2 separate regions of the Homo sapiens genome follow, and region 2 is linked to region 1. The links are contacts of gene promoters, found by promoter capture Hi-C in blood cells and fetal thymus (Javierre and others, 2016). All regions are on one chromosome and are shown on one strand. The core of a region is centred on a gene start or on the middle of the fragment in contact, and the rest is flanking DNA. Distances in the headings are between cores, read along the strand shown. Region 1 holds the start of SUPT20H (SPT20 homolog, SAGA complex component). Region 2 holds the start of COG6 (component of oligomeric golgi complex 6).

Region 1 (7,173 bases), core at 3,493-5,992:
AATCACAAGCATTCTTATACACCAATAACAGACAAACACAGAGCCAAATCATGAGTGAATTCCCATTCACAATTGCTTCAAAGAGAATAAAATACCTAGGAATACAACTTACAAGGGATGTGAAGGACCTCTTCAAGGAGAACTACAAACCACTGCTCAAGGAAATAAAAGAGGATACAAACAAATGGAAGAACATTCCATGCTTATGAGTAGGAAGAATCAATATCGTGAAAATCGCCATATTGCTCAAGGTAATTTATAGATTCAACGCCATCCCCATCAAGCTACCAATGACTTTCTTCACAGAATTGGAAAAAACTACTTTAAAGTTCATATGGAACCAAAAAAGAGCCCACATTGCCAAGTCAATCCTAAGCCAAAAGACAAAGCTGGAGGCATCACGCTACCTGACTTCAAACTATACTACAAGGCTACATTAACCAAAACAGCATGGTACTTGTACCAAAACAGAGATATAGACCAATGGAACAGAACAGAGCCCTCAGAAATAATGCCACATATCTACAACCATCTGATCTTTGACAAACCTGACCAAAACAAGCAATGGGGAAAGGATTCCCTATTTAATAAATGGTGCTGGGAAAACTGGCTAGCCATATGTAGAAAGCTGAAACTGGATCCCTTCCTTAGCCCTTACACAAAAATTAATTCAAGATGGATTAAAGACTTAAATGTTAGACCTAAAACCATAAAAACCCTAGAAGAAAACCTAGGCAATACCATTCAGGACATAGGCGAGGGCAAGGACTTCATGTCTAAAACACCAAAAGCAATAGCAACAAAAGCCAAAATTGACAAATGGGATCTAATTAAACTAAAGAGCTTCTGCACAGCAAAAGAAACTACCATCAGAGTGAACAGGCAACCTACAGAATGGGAGAAAATGTTTGCAATCTACTCATCTGACAAAGGGCTAATATCCAGAATCTACAATGAACTCAAACAAACTTCCAAGGAAAAAACAAACAACCCCATCAATCAGTGGGCGAAGGATATGAACAGACACTTCTGAAAAGAAGACATTTATACAGCCAAAAGACACATGAAAAAATGCTCATCACTGGCCATCAGAGAAATGCAAATCAAAACCACAATGAGATACCATCTCACACCAGTTAGAATAGCGATCATTAAAAAGTCAGGAAACAACAGGTGCTGGAGAGGATGTGGAGAAATAGGAACACTTTTACATTGTTGGTGGGACTGTAAACTAGCTCAACCATTGTGGAAGTCAGTGTGGCGATTCCTCAAGGATCTAGAAGTAGAAATACCATTTGACCCAGCCATCCCATTACTGGGTATATACCCAAAGGATTATAAAACATGTTGCTATAAAGACACATGCACACGTATGTTTATTGCAGCACTATTTACAGTAGCAAAGACTTGGAACCAACCCAAATGTCCAACAATGATAGACTGGATTAAGAAAATGTGGCACATATACACCATGGAATACTATGCAGCCATAAAAAATGATGAGTTCATGTCCTTTGCAGTGACATGGATGAAGCTGGAAACCATCATTCTCAGCAAACTATCGCAAGGACAAAAAACCAAACACTGCATGTTCTCACTCATAGGTGAGAATTGAGCAATGAGAACTCATGGACACAGGAAGGGGAACTTCACACACCAGGGCCTGTTTTGGGGTGGGAGGAGGGGGGAGGGATAGCATGAGGAGATATACCTAATGTTAAATGACAAGTTAATGGGTGCAGCACACCAACATGGCACATGTATACATATGTAACAAACCTGCACGTTGTGCACATGTACCCTAAAACTTAAAGTATAATAAAAAGAAAAAAAAAAAAAGAAAATCTTCTTTTCTATAACTACAGGAGTTCTTATCCTGGCTGCACAAGAGTAACTTGCAGAGCTTCAAACTGTGGGATGCCTGTGACCCACCTGCTTGAGACTGATTAAGTGGTCTAGAGTGAGGCACAGTCCCCATTTTTGGAGCTCCCCAGACGAGTCAAACGTGCTGCCAGGGTTGAAGCTCACTCTGCCTAGCAAAGGATGGTGCGTAACATTTGCTCTGAGATAAGACTGGGCATGGTGGTTCACACCTGTAACCCCAGGACTTTGGGAGGCCCAGGTGAGAGGATCATCTGAGCTGAGGAGTTTGAGACCAGCCTGGGCAACATAGTGAGACTTGTCACTACTAAGGGAAGAAAAAAAAATTAGTCCAGCATGGTGGCACAGGTCCCAGCTACTCGGTAGGCTGAGGCAGGAGGATCACTTAAGCTTGGGAAATAGAGGCTGCAGTGAGCCATGATCACACCACTGTACTCCAGCCTGGGTAAAAGAGCAAGACCCTGTCTCAAAAAAAAAAAAGTTAGAAATAAAAATAAATAGAAAACATTTGCTCTGAGACTGATGACAAATAAAAATTATTTTTAATCTATTCACCTAACTTCATGTAACCACTACTGGGTGTCTACACAGCTGAACTAAAGCACAACTTCTGATGACAGAAAACAAGATTTTCCAGGTAAAACAGTTTTGCTTTGATTTTTGGTGAACCCCAAAGCTTTGTTTTTTGCCAAGCCATTAAAAAAAAAAAAAAAAAAAAAAGGAAAGGGCCAGGTGGGGTGTGGCTCACGCCAGTAATCCCAGCACTTTGGGAGGCAGAGGCTGCCAGATGGCCTGAGCCCAGGAGCAGTAGTTCCAGACCTGCCTGAGCAACATGGGGAAAGTGTCTCTACAAAAAAATACAGAAGGCCGGGTGCAGTGGCTCACACCTATAATCCCAGCACTTTGGGAGGCCAAGGCAGGTGGATTGCTTCAGCCCTGGAGTTCGAGACCAGCCTGGACAACATGGCGAAACCCCGTCTCTACTAAAAACACAAAAATCAGCCGGGTGTGGTGGCGTACACCTGAAATCCCAGCTACTCAGGAGGCTGAGGCAAGAGAATCACTTGAACCTGGGAGGTGGAGGCTGCAGTGAGCGAAGATCGCGCCACTGCACTGCAGCCTGGACGACATAGAGAGACTCCGTCTCAAAAAAAAAAAAAAAAAAAAGTTGGCTGGGGCGGTGGCTCAGGCCTGTAAGAGGCAGAAGCGGGTGGGTCACTTGAGGTCAGGAATTCGAGACCAGCCTGACCAACAATGGTGAAACCCAGTCTCTACTAAAAAAATTAAAAATTAGCCGGGTGTGTTGGCACACACCTGTAATCCCAGCTACTCCGGAGGCTGAGGCAGGAGAATGGCTTGAACTGGGAGGCAGAGGTTGCAGTGAGCCAGGATCGCCCCATTGCACTCCAGCCTGGACAACAAGAGTGAAACTCCGTCTGAAACTTTAAAAAATGGACTAACCTCCTAATACAACACAAACACAAGCACCATACAACTGTAAATGATTTACGATCATTTACAATGAGTAAGATATTACTCCTACCCTTGAAAAGCTCGTAGGAGGTTTAAGTTGAATTTAGGTGAACGTGAAAATTTTCTGACCACTGAATTTGAAGATGAAGATACACTATGTACTTTTCGGACAAAATGTGATGACTTTAAGATTTCTTGTCACTAAATTGGGGATGGGGGCTTACTAACTTTAAATTATTTAAGTACTTCAGACAAAAACTAATAACTTCATATCTCTCACAAAGCAAACATTCTGTCTATACACAGAATTTACTAGAACCTGTGAGGAAACTGTAATCATTATCATTTCCGTTTTACAGAATAAGGCAATCAGAACAACTGACTTTCCTAACATCACAGACCTAGATCAGAATTCAGAACTCTGTGTCCAATCTTAGGTCCCTTCCAATATTACAACCTGCAAACTAATCAAACCGGCATCTGTTTTTACATTTCTTTAAAAAAAGCAAAGCAATTAAAAAAAGGACCCAATTCTGCTCAGAGACGAATATGTATTTCTTAATTTGGATCTAACTTTATAACATGGTGATCAACCCAAGTACACTGTACTCGACTCCGAAAATCCTGCTCGTCACTTTATATTTTGAGTCCTACTAGAGACTTTGATGAATTGCACTCAAGAAGACGCGGCCCCCACTACGCAGTGGCTACGGGAGATGGCTTCCAGGGCAACTGTTCTCCAAGTTCATTTCTGAGCGCCGGGTAACCATGGCCAGTAATTAATCCAATTCTAAGCGTTGCTATCAATTCTACGCGTTGCTATCAATTCTACTGATTTCCCTGATCGACCAGAGTCTTCCCATTGCAGGAGCTTTTGTCACAACTTAGGCTTTACCTGTACAACCGTCATCTCCACAGAGGAGCGACAAGCCTTTATGCAATATGGACACCAAGAAAACCGCCTTCGAAGACACGCAAGGCAAAATTCTTGCCAGTGTCCGGAAATACCCGTCTCTGGAACCCAAAAGTCAAACTAAAATTAAAAGTTCGGCTTAGCAACACCGCGAAAGGCGATGTAGGCGTCCACCTGGAGTTTAGCTGCCTCAACCTCCGCCCCGGCCTGCCGGGTCTCTGGGGACCCCGTCTTCCTCCAGCGGGCTCTGGGATGCGGCCCGCTCACCTCTGACCCTGGCCGGATCTCGCGCGTCTAAGCCACCGCGTTGCCAGTCGCTGGCCACCCACCTACCGCCACCGCCCACCTGTGCGGGTCGCCTCGCCGCTAGGCCCCAAGACGGCGCCGCCTGCTCGGCAGCAAAGCCCACCCGCCCCGTCGGCGGCTCAGTGCTGCACCCCCACCAACAGCCAGTTCCGGCGGCCGCACTTCCGATTGGCAGGCTGGGCCGAGGGGCGGGGAAGGCGGGCGGAAGGGGAGGAGCCGGGAGGGCGGGGCCGCTGCCAGGAGCCTGGAGCGCTGCGTTCCGCGCAGGACGCCGGTGAGGCCCGCAGAGACTTGCGTCCGGGCGGGAGGCGGGGCCCAGGATCTCTGCTCAATCCTGGAGTCCGAGTCCGCAAAGTGGGAGGGAGGGTGTAGATGTGAATTTGGGGAAAAACGACCCTGTTGAATTTCTAGAGTGGAAGAAACATAGAACTAGCTTTTCTCTTTGCTTAGCACATACAAATGGAAAAACAGCGACACCGTTACCTACATTTACTAGTCCAATGCGTACAACCTTCTGTAGTATATCAACTGCCAATGAGTTTATGTTTTTAAAAAAACCACCCCAGAGAAGGGTTCTAAAAATTCAGAAACCGCATTACTAGCACACATTGTAAGGTCTGTTTTGTTTTGTTTGTTCGTTTGTTTTTCAGACAGAGTCTCGCTCTGTCGCCCAGGCTGGAGTGGAGTGGAGAAATCTCAGCTAACTGCAACCTTTGCCTCCTGGGTTCAAGCGATTCTCCCTGCCTCAGTCTCCGGAGTAGCTGGGATTATAGGCGTGCACCACCACACCCGGCTAATTTTTGTATTTTTAGTAGAGACTGTTTCACTATGTTGGGCAGGCTGCTCTTGAACTCCTCATCTCAAGTGATCCACCCGCCTTGGCCTCCCAAAGTGCTGGGATTACAGGCGTGAGCCATCATGCACGGCCTGGGGTGAATCTTTTTAATGAGCATTTATTATTTGCCGTTCACAATGCCAAGGGTCATAATGAATGAAAGTGTCTTGGAATTAGAGTTAGTGGTTGCACACATTATAAGTGTATTAAAGTACACTCCAAAATAAAATCCGAACACATTAAGTGGTTACTCCCATTCCTCCCTCTCTCAGCCCCTGGCAAATGCCAATCAGCTTTCAAACTGTGGTACCTATTACGGATATTTCATATAAATGGAATGTGTGACCTTTTGGTCTGTCTTCGTAGCATAATCTTTTGCAGGTTCACCTTGTACACCTTGTTGCATGTATCGGTACTTCATGTCTCTTTATGGCTACTATTCCACTGTACCTAGATGCCACAGTTTTACCTGTCCATCCACTGATGGACATTTGGGTTGTTTCCACTTTCGGGCTATTGTGAATAGCAATGATATGAACATTTGTATACAAGTATTTGTTCGAGTCCCTGTTTTCAATTCTTTTGGGTATAAACATAGTGGAACTTCTGGGTCTTATAGTAATTCTACGTGAAAATATTTGAGGAACCCATAAACAAATGTTTCTACAGCAGCTGAACCATTCATTTTACATACCAAGAGCATTGTCGGGGGATTCCAATTTCTCCACATCCTCACTAACACCATAATTTTCTATTCCTTTGATAGTAACCATCCCAAAGGGTATAAAGTGGTATTTTATTGTGGGTTTGATTTGCATTCCCTAATGGCTAGTTATCTTGAGCATCTTTTCATGCCCTTGTTAGCCATTTGTATATCTTCTTTGGAGAACTCTCTATTCAGGTATTTCCCCATTTTTAAATTGAGTTGTTTGTGTTTTTGTTGTTAGTTATGTGTAGTCATATATTCTGGATATTAGACCCTTATGAGATATATCATTGGTGGATACTTTCTCCCATTCTGTAGGTTGTCTTTTCACTTTCTTTGTAATATCCTTCAGTGTACAAACCTTTTTAATTTTGATGAAATCTAATTTATCTATTTTGTTACTTGTGCTTTTGGTGTCATCACCAAGAATCCATTGTGCAAGCACACTAGCTTTCATGTCTCTTCTTATGAGTAACTAATTCTATTGGATAAGGGCCCCACCTTTATGATCTTCTTAAACCTTAATTACCTCCTTATAGATCTTATCTCCAATACAGTGACATTGGGGTTTGGGGTTACATATATGAATTTTGTGGAGATATAATTTGGTCAACAGACTTCTGTACCCCTGCAATTCATGTCCTTATTGAATACAAAATACATTCATACCACTTCAACAGTCTCAAAAGCATCAACTCTAAAATCTGAAGTCCGAAGTCTCTTCTAAATATCACCTAAAACAGATAAGGGTGAGACTTGAGATATGATTCATCCTGATGCAAATTTTCTCCCCAGCTATGAAACTGTAAAACCAGGGAAGTTGTTTGCTTCCAAAATACAATGGCAGAACAGGCATAGAATAGGCATTCCAAACAAACAAACAAACAAAAATAGGAGCAAGAAAGGAAGGAAATAAAAGAAATAGGCAAAAAGGAAGGGATGACAGGTCCCAAGCAAGTCCAAAAATCTAGCAAGGCAAATTCTAGTAGATTTTAAGGCTCAAGAATAATCCATTTTGATTCAGTGCCCTGCCTTCCAGACCTACAAGGGTGGTGGCCC
Region 2 (7,173 bases), core at 2,769-5,268, 2.6 Mb after region 1:
TGCCCAGCCTCTGTATCTTTTTCTTTTCTTCTTCTTTTTTTTTTTTTTTTTTTTTTTAAAGAAGGGGTCTTGCTCTACCATCCAGGCTGGAGTGCAGTGGTGCAATCTTGGCTCACTGCAACCTCTGCCTCCCAGGTTCAAGCGATTCTCCTGCCTCAGCCTCCTGAGTAGCTGGGATTACAGGCATGAGCCACCACACCCGGCTCCATATCTTTTTTAATTTTGGATTTTTAATCACCTTTACAGGCAGCGGTAATTGATGAAGTAAGTCCTGACCAACATAAAAACACATTTTTGCAATGAGGTGCTAAAGAGTCACACAACTTCTTTTGCAAGCTAGTTGAATTCCAAGATCCTGTCCTTTTTGGAGTTTTGGAAAACAATATGTGAAATAGGTTATTATTTTAATTCTAACACTTTTTCTATAGATCCTTCTGGATTATCTAGGGACACATTGCATCACCTATCAAAAAGTGTAAATTTTAAAAATTCTCTCTAATCTTTATGACTTTTTTCTTAGTTTATTATTCTGGTTTGAGCTTCTAGTGAAATATTGAATAGCAGTGTTAGTGGATAGTTTTTGTCTTATTCTTGATGTCAAGGAGAAAGTTTTAAATATTTCCTTAGGTGTGATGTTTGTCATAGGGTTTTTTTTTGTATATACTCTCAATCCAATTAAGGAAATCCCCTTTTATTCAAATTGCTAAGAGTTTACTTGTTTCTTTAATCATGAATGGATATTGGATTTTATCATCGGCTTTTTCTCAATCTATAGAAAAGCTCACATGGGAGAAAGAATAGTCCTTTTAGCAAATGGTGTGGGAGACAACTGAATATCCACATTTAAGACAATAAAACTGGATCCCTACCTAACATCCATACACAAAAATTAGCTCAAGGTACAAGATAGGCTTTAATATAAGTGCTGAAACTATAAAATTTTATTAGGCCTGTGCAAAAGTAATTGCGATTTTTGCCATTACTTTCAATGGCAAAACCTGCAATTACTTTTGTGCCAATGTAATAGAAGAAAACACAGGAATAAATTTTTGTGATCTAGGTTGGGTAATAATTTCTTGAATAAGGCACCAAAAGCACAAATAATAAAAAAGGAAATTGATAAGTTGTATCTCATCAAATTAAGATTAATTGTGCTTCAAAGGATGCCATTGAGAAAGTGAAAAGACAAGCAAAAGTAGGAAAAAATATTTTCCAATAAATTGTTAGGACTAGTATCCAGAATATATAAAGAATTCTTACAACTCAATATCACTAGTCACTAGGAAATGGAAAGCCAAATCTCAATGAGGTATCATATCACACTGAGTAGGATGGATAAGATAAAAAAGACAGACCATAATGAGTGTTAGTCAGGATGTGAAGAATACTGGAGCCCCTCATACAGTGCTGGTGGGAATGAAAAATGGGGCAGTCACTTCGGAAAACTATTTGACAGTTTCTCAAAACATTAAACATAGAGTTAACCATAAGAACAATCTACTCCTAGGTATCTTCCTAAGGAAAGTGAAAACATACATCCACACAAAAACTCTCACATGAAAATTCACAGAGACATTTTTCATAAAAGCCAAAAATTTGAAACTACCTAAATAGCCATCTGACGAATGAATAAAATATGGGAGATCCATACAATGGATTATTATTTGGCAATAATAGGGAATGAAACACTGATACAAGCTACAAAATAGATGAACCTTGAAAAATTATGCTAAGTGAAAGAAGTCAGGCATGAAATGTTACATATTGTATAATTCTGTTTATATGAAATGTCCAAACTGGCATATCTATAGAGACAGAGAGCAGATTTGTGGTTTCCTAGGGTGGTAGAGAGGGGAAAATGGGGAGTGCTAGTGGGTACAGTTTTCTTCTTAAAGTAATGAAAATGTCTTAAAATTAGATGATGGTGATATTTGCCAACTCTGTAAATGAACTAAAAGCTGTCATATTTTATACTTTTAATAGGTGAAGTTTATGGCCTGTAAATTATATCTAAATAAAGATTTTAAAAATTAATATAAATTTGTATTTTTTATTACTTAAACATTTTGTCTATTTATCTCCAATTTACTTTTTAAAATAAACAGCTTTATTTTTTTTTTTTCAATTTTAAGATAGGGCCTTGCTCCATCACCCAGGCTAGAGTAGAGGGCAGTGGCATGATTATGACTTACCGCAGGCTTGAGCTCAAGTGATACTCCCACCTCAACCTTCCAAGTAGCTGGGACCACAGGCATGCCACCACACTCGACTAGTTTTCGTATTTTTTTTTTTTTTTTTGTAGAGACAGGGTCTCGCTATGTTGCCCAGGCTGGTCTTTAACTCCTGAACTCGAGATCCCCCTGCCTAAGCCTCCCAAAGTGCTGGGAATACAGGTGTGAGCCACCATACCTGGCCTAAAAAACAGATTTGAGATGAAACTTGCATGCCATTCAATTCATTCATTTAAAGTGTACAGTTCAGTGTTTTTTAGTATATTTACAGAGTTGTGCAACCATCACCACAATTTAGCTTTAGAGTATTTTCATCTCCCCAAAAATTAACCTGTACCATGAACTGACACTCCCCATTCCCTCTTCCCAACACTCCTCTTCCCAGAACCACTCATCTACTTTCTATCTCTATTGATTTACCTATTTGGGAGATTTCACATAAAGAGGTCATACAATATGTGGTATTTCATGACCGCTCCTGACTTGGCATGTTATCATCGTCATTCCTTTTAATTGTACATATTTGCAAGCTCTACATTATATTATTGCTTTGTATATATGCAAATTCATTTGGATATATACACCTTAGGTAAACCTTTGATATTTTAATTTTGGTTACACTGAACTTAAATTTATCTGTGAAAGAGAAAAGACATCTTACAATATTGAGTCTTCCTGTTGAAGAGAACAATATATTTTTTCATTGATTTAAGTTTTATGTTCTCCCAGTAGCATTTTAAAGTTTTCTTCATCTAGGTTCTCTGTATTTTTTGTTGAATTCATACCTAGATATTGCTGCTTTTTGTATATTTTTTTCTTTTGGATAGTTGGGCCTTCTCTTCTTCATTAGAGTAGAGATGAGTGGTTTTGTCAGTGCTTTCTTTATGTGACCTCTGTAATAGGTAATTTTCCCTTAAGTCTGATATACAATATAACTATGTACATAGACATATATGAAACAAGGAAAATTTATGACAAGAGCCAAATAGTGTTTCTGACAAATAATTCACAGAAGCCCAGCGATTTTATTTTGATCCAAATTTTAAAAACTGAGAAAAGAAAGAAAAAAAGCAATGATGTTTGTTTTCCAGAGTTTCCCGGGAAGTTTTTTCAACTTGTTACATTTTTATCCATTACTTTACAGCTACATGGGCTCTGGTCCATTTGTGTCAGGGCCAAGTTCATCTTGTTTTGAGGCCTGTACACTTACACACTTTCTTCTGCCTGGGAATGATTTCTCCTCACATTCTGATTCTCCTTCAAATCTCAGTTTAAGTGTCAACTCCTCTCCAAACCTCCCTGAGTGAAGTGGGCCTTTCCCTCCATTTTCTTTCACTGTACTACTTCATCCCCTGAGCACTCATCACAACCTAATAACATCTATTAACAGCTTTGTCTGTTTCAGACACACAATGTAGATTCTCCAATGCCTACCAGAGTACCTGGCACATACTATGCCTTCAATAAATAATTTTCAAAAAAATGAATTCAGATAAGGCAAATGTAATTTAAACTTTCAGTTAACTTATATTGAATGTATATGCCAGGCACAAGTCATGGTGTATTTTACATACTACATTTGGTTGTCATCTAATTAGCTCTGAAGGTCGCAGATCCATAATTCCAAAGTCCTCTCTAATCCTATAAATTTTCTCCTTCTACCTGAGGGTCTTGTCCCGCCCCCCACATCTTCTCCGCCCCTCACGCTTCTGAGAGCCCAAGCAGGGTTACCCGGCGAAGACTTCCGGGGCCGATGCGCATGCGCGGCCGATTTGCACATGCGCAATACTCGCGCTGCCTCCGTGGTCCCTGCCTGGCTGAGGTGGCAGCAGGGGGCGGGACGCGCAGCGCTATGGCAGAGGGCAGCGGGGAAGTGGTCGCAGTGTCTGCGACCGGGGCTGCCAACGGCCTCAACAATGGGGCAGGCGGGACCTCGGCGACGACCTGCAACCCGCTGTCGCGCAAGCTGCATAAGATCCTGGAGACGCGGCTGGACAACGACAAGGTAACCGGGGCTGGCGGGGCCGGAGTCACAGGTTCCTGCGGGGCTGAGCCGGGCCAGGGGCGGCGTCTGTCAGGGACCCACCGCGGTCTCCCTCGTCCCGGCAGCAGAGGGACCGCGAGTGACCCCAGACCTGCGGGCTCCGCTGCTCTGCGGGCGCCGGGGGCGGTGAGAAGGGGGAGCCCCAGCAACCTCCGGAAAAGCGAAGGGGTTTCCTGGGTGTTCTCTCCACCTGAAAAGGTGCCTTCAAGGCTCTCTGGATGGGATTGGTGAACGGTGGTGCCTCGAGAAGTGTCCTCCAAACACCCCTGGAGGCGTTTGGCTGTGTGAGCTGGGAGAGTGGAGGAGAGCACAAGACTGGATATGAAACAGATGCAAAAGAGCAGATTCCAAGATAAGGTAGCGCAAATGGGGGTCGGGAGACCAAGAGAGCAGTGGTAGGGATAAGGGTGCATTTCCACGGACAAGTGACAACAATTGCAATAATTTGCAGCGCGAAAGAACTACCTTTGCCCGTGGCTGAAATGAACTCATATCTACTAGTTTTTGTTGAGCCAAGCGCTATGATTTGTGGGCTCAGGCTGTATTTCTTTAGAAGATAAACTGACAGCATGCTCTCACAAGTACCTCCTGAAACTTAAGTTGGACTTTACAGCTCCTCACATACCCAGCCATCTCTTCTGTCTCTGTGGGTCGCTAGGTAAATTGGTCATGACAGTGTAACATAAAGAAGAACATATGTCAAAGTTAGAGAGTTTTATAGGTGAATATGTAGGTAACTGAAAATAAGCTGTCGATAACAATTTGATTCCGATATGTAAAAAAATAACATTGCAATGTAATGAATAAGAAATTAGGGCTCTGGAGACTACCACTTATTAGATAGAACCACTAAATGTGTGCATCATGATTTGAGTAAGTCCCTTCACTAATCTCAGCTTCTGTTTAGGAATTAGGAATCCTGCTGTTAAGTTTCTCATGGTTGTTATTTGAGGACTCAGTGAGAGACTCCAGGTAAAGTCCTTTGCAAAGAGCCTGGCACTTACTCTTTCTTAACAAATATTAATTTTATCATAAAATTTATGAAGTGTTTAATGTGTCTCATATTGATATTTATTATATCATTTAAGACTGCTACTTGCTCTGATATAGATAACATGGCCTTCTTTTTTGGACAGAGTTTTGCTCTTTTTGCCCAAGCTGGAGTGCAATGGGCGCAGTCTCGGCTCACTGCAACCTCTGCCTCCCGGGTTCAAGCGATTCTCCTGCCTCAGCCTCCCAAGTAGCTGGGATTACAGGCATGTGCCACCACGCCTGGCTAATTTTGTATTTTTATTAGAGACGGGGTTTCTCCATGTTGGTCAGGCTGGTCTTGAACTCCTGACCTCAGGTGATCTGCCCGCCTCAGCCTCCCAAAGTGCTGGGATTACAAGGCGTGAACCACTGCGCCCGGCCACATAACCTTCTTTTTACCATGAGGAAAATAAAGCATGGAGAGAGTGCAGCTAGGTTGTCATATAACTAGTAACTGGTGGAACTGTAATTTGCATCTGAGTCTGTGATTTCATTCGTTCAACATTACTGATTACTTCTTTGAACCAGACCTTAGGACATTTCAAGGCTATAGTCTAAAGAAACTGCTTCACTTCATGGGTTTTTTTTTTCTGTACAGTAAGTATTTATAGTTGTAAACATATTTTTGCTTCCTCTGAAATATTAAATTGAATTTATATAAATAGTTTTACTGTTTTTGTCAATCCAGCCAATATTTCAAAATAACAAATAGAAACATGAAAGGGTAAGCCTACTAGAATATACAGTAGTGGAGGTGTAGAAATGTATATCTGCAGAATTTAGTGTACAATGGGGATGTCCTGGGCTTGGTTCTCTGCTCTCTCTTCCATTCATGTTTTCTCTGTAAGAAAAATCTTGTACTTTCATGGTTTTAAGTAGCAAAAAGCATGATTACTCTCAAATTTATAACTCTGTTTCTGACATCTACTGAGCTCCAGATTTGTAGAATTAGTTGTCTATACTATACCTCCAATTGGATACTGATTGACGTCATAGAACTTAACATGGGCGGAACTCTTGATTTTTCCCTAAACTGGTTCCGCTCTCACTAAAGAACGTCACCATTTACCCAGTCAAGCAAGAAGCATATGAATAATTTTGGATTCTTGTCACTTTTTTTTTTTTTTTTTTACATCTCCTGCAAATCCACAAACATATCTTATAGGTTCTACTTTGAAGAATATTTTTGGAATATCTTTTTTTTTTTTTTGAGACCAAGTCTCACTCTGTCGCCCAGGCTGGAGTCCAATGGAGAGAACATGGCCTTACTGTAGCCTTGATCTTGCTGGCTCAAGCGATCCTCCTGCCACAGCCTCCCAGGTAGCTGGGTCTACAGGCACATGCCACCATACCTGGCTAATTTTTTGATTTTTTTATAGAGATAGGGGTCTTACTATGTTATGCAGGCTGGTCTTGAACTGGCATCAAACTATCCTCCCAACTTGACCTCCCAAACTGCTGGGATTACAGGTGTAAGCCACCGTGCCATATTTTGGAATATCTCTTTTTCATTTGTACTACTGCCATCTTGGTCTAAGCCACTATCAAACCATACTGGGATTATTTTTGTTTTTTCTCTTACCTACCTCCTTTCTTGTACCCCTTTACCATTCATTTTCCTTACAAAGTTGGAATAAACTTTTATAAATATAAATCGTATTACATTACTCCCCTGCCTAAAATCGTAATAATTTCTCATAACTTCAGTCATAGTGGCCTTCCTTCTACCACTTTAGGGTCTTTGTACTCATTGTTTGCTCTGTCTGTGGAAGGCTTTGTCCCCATGACTGGCTGTTGCCTACACTGAGGCCTCAGTTCAAAGTCACCTCAGAGAGGCCTTCCCCTTTAAGTTTCTCCAAGTTCTAC

The links. The method cuts DNA at HindIII sites, captures the fragments that hold promoters and counts their contacts. A CHiCAGO score of 5 or more calls a contact.
Region 2: the fragment with the promoter of COG6 here is called in contact with the fragment with the promoter of SUPT20H in region 1 in 4 of 17 cell types (naive CD8 T cells, total B cells, naive CD4 T cells and 1 more); the score reaches 13.4 in naive CD8 T cells.

What each region holds. Positions count from the first base shown.
Region 1 is chr13:37,054,946-37,062,118 of GRCh38, forward strand. SUPT20H (SPT20 homolog, SAGA complex component) reads right to left here and starts at 4,743. Exons shown (of 26, transcript NM_001014286.3): 1 at 4,614-4,743. RefSeq lists a silencer at 4,655-4,914. The HindIII fragment of the contact is 8,647 bases long and covers 2,556-7,173 here.
Region 2 is chr13:39,651,644-39,658,816 of GRCh38, forward strand. COG6 (component of oligomeric golgi complex 6) reads left to right here and starts at 4,019. Exons shown (of 19, transcript NM_020751.3): 1 at 4,019-4,236. The coding sequence starts at 4,084. RefSeq lists a silencer at 4,283-4,332. The HindIII fragment of the contact is 8,496 bases long and covers 1-7,173 here.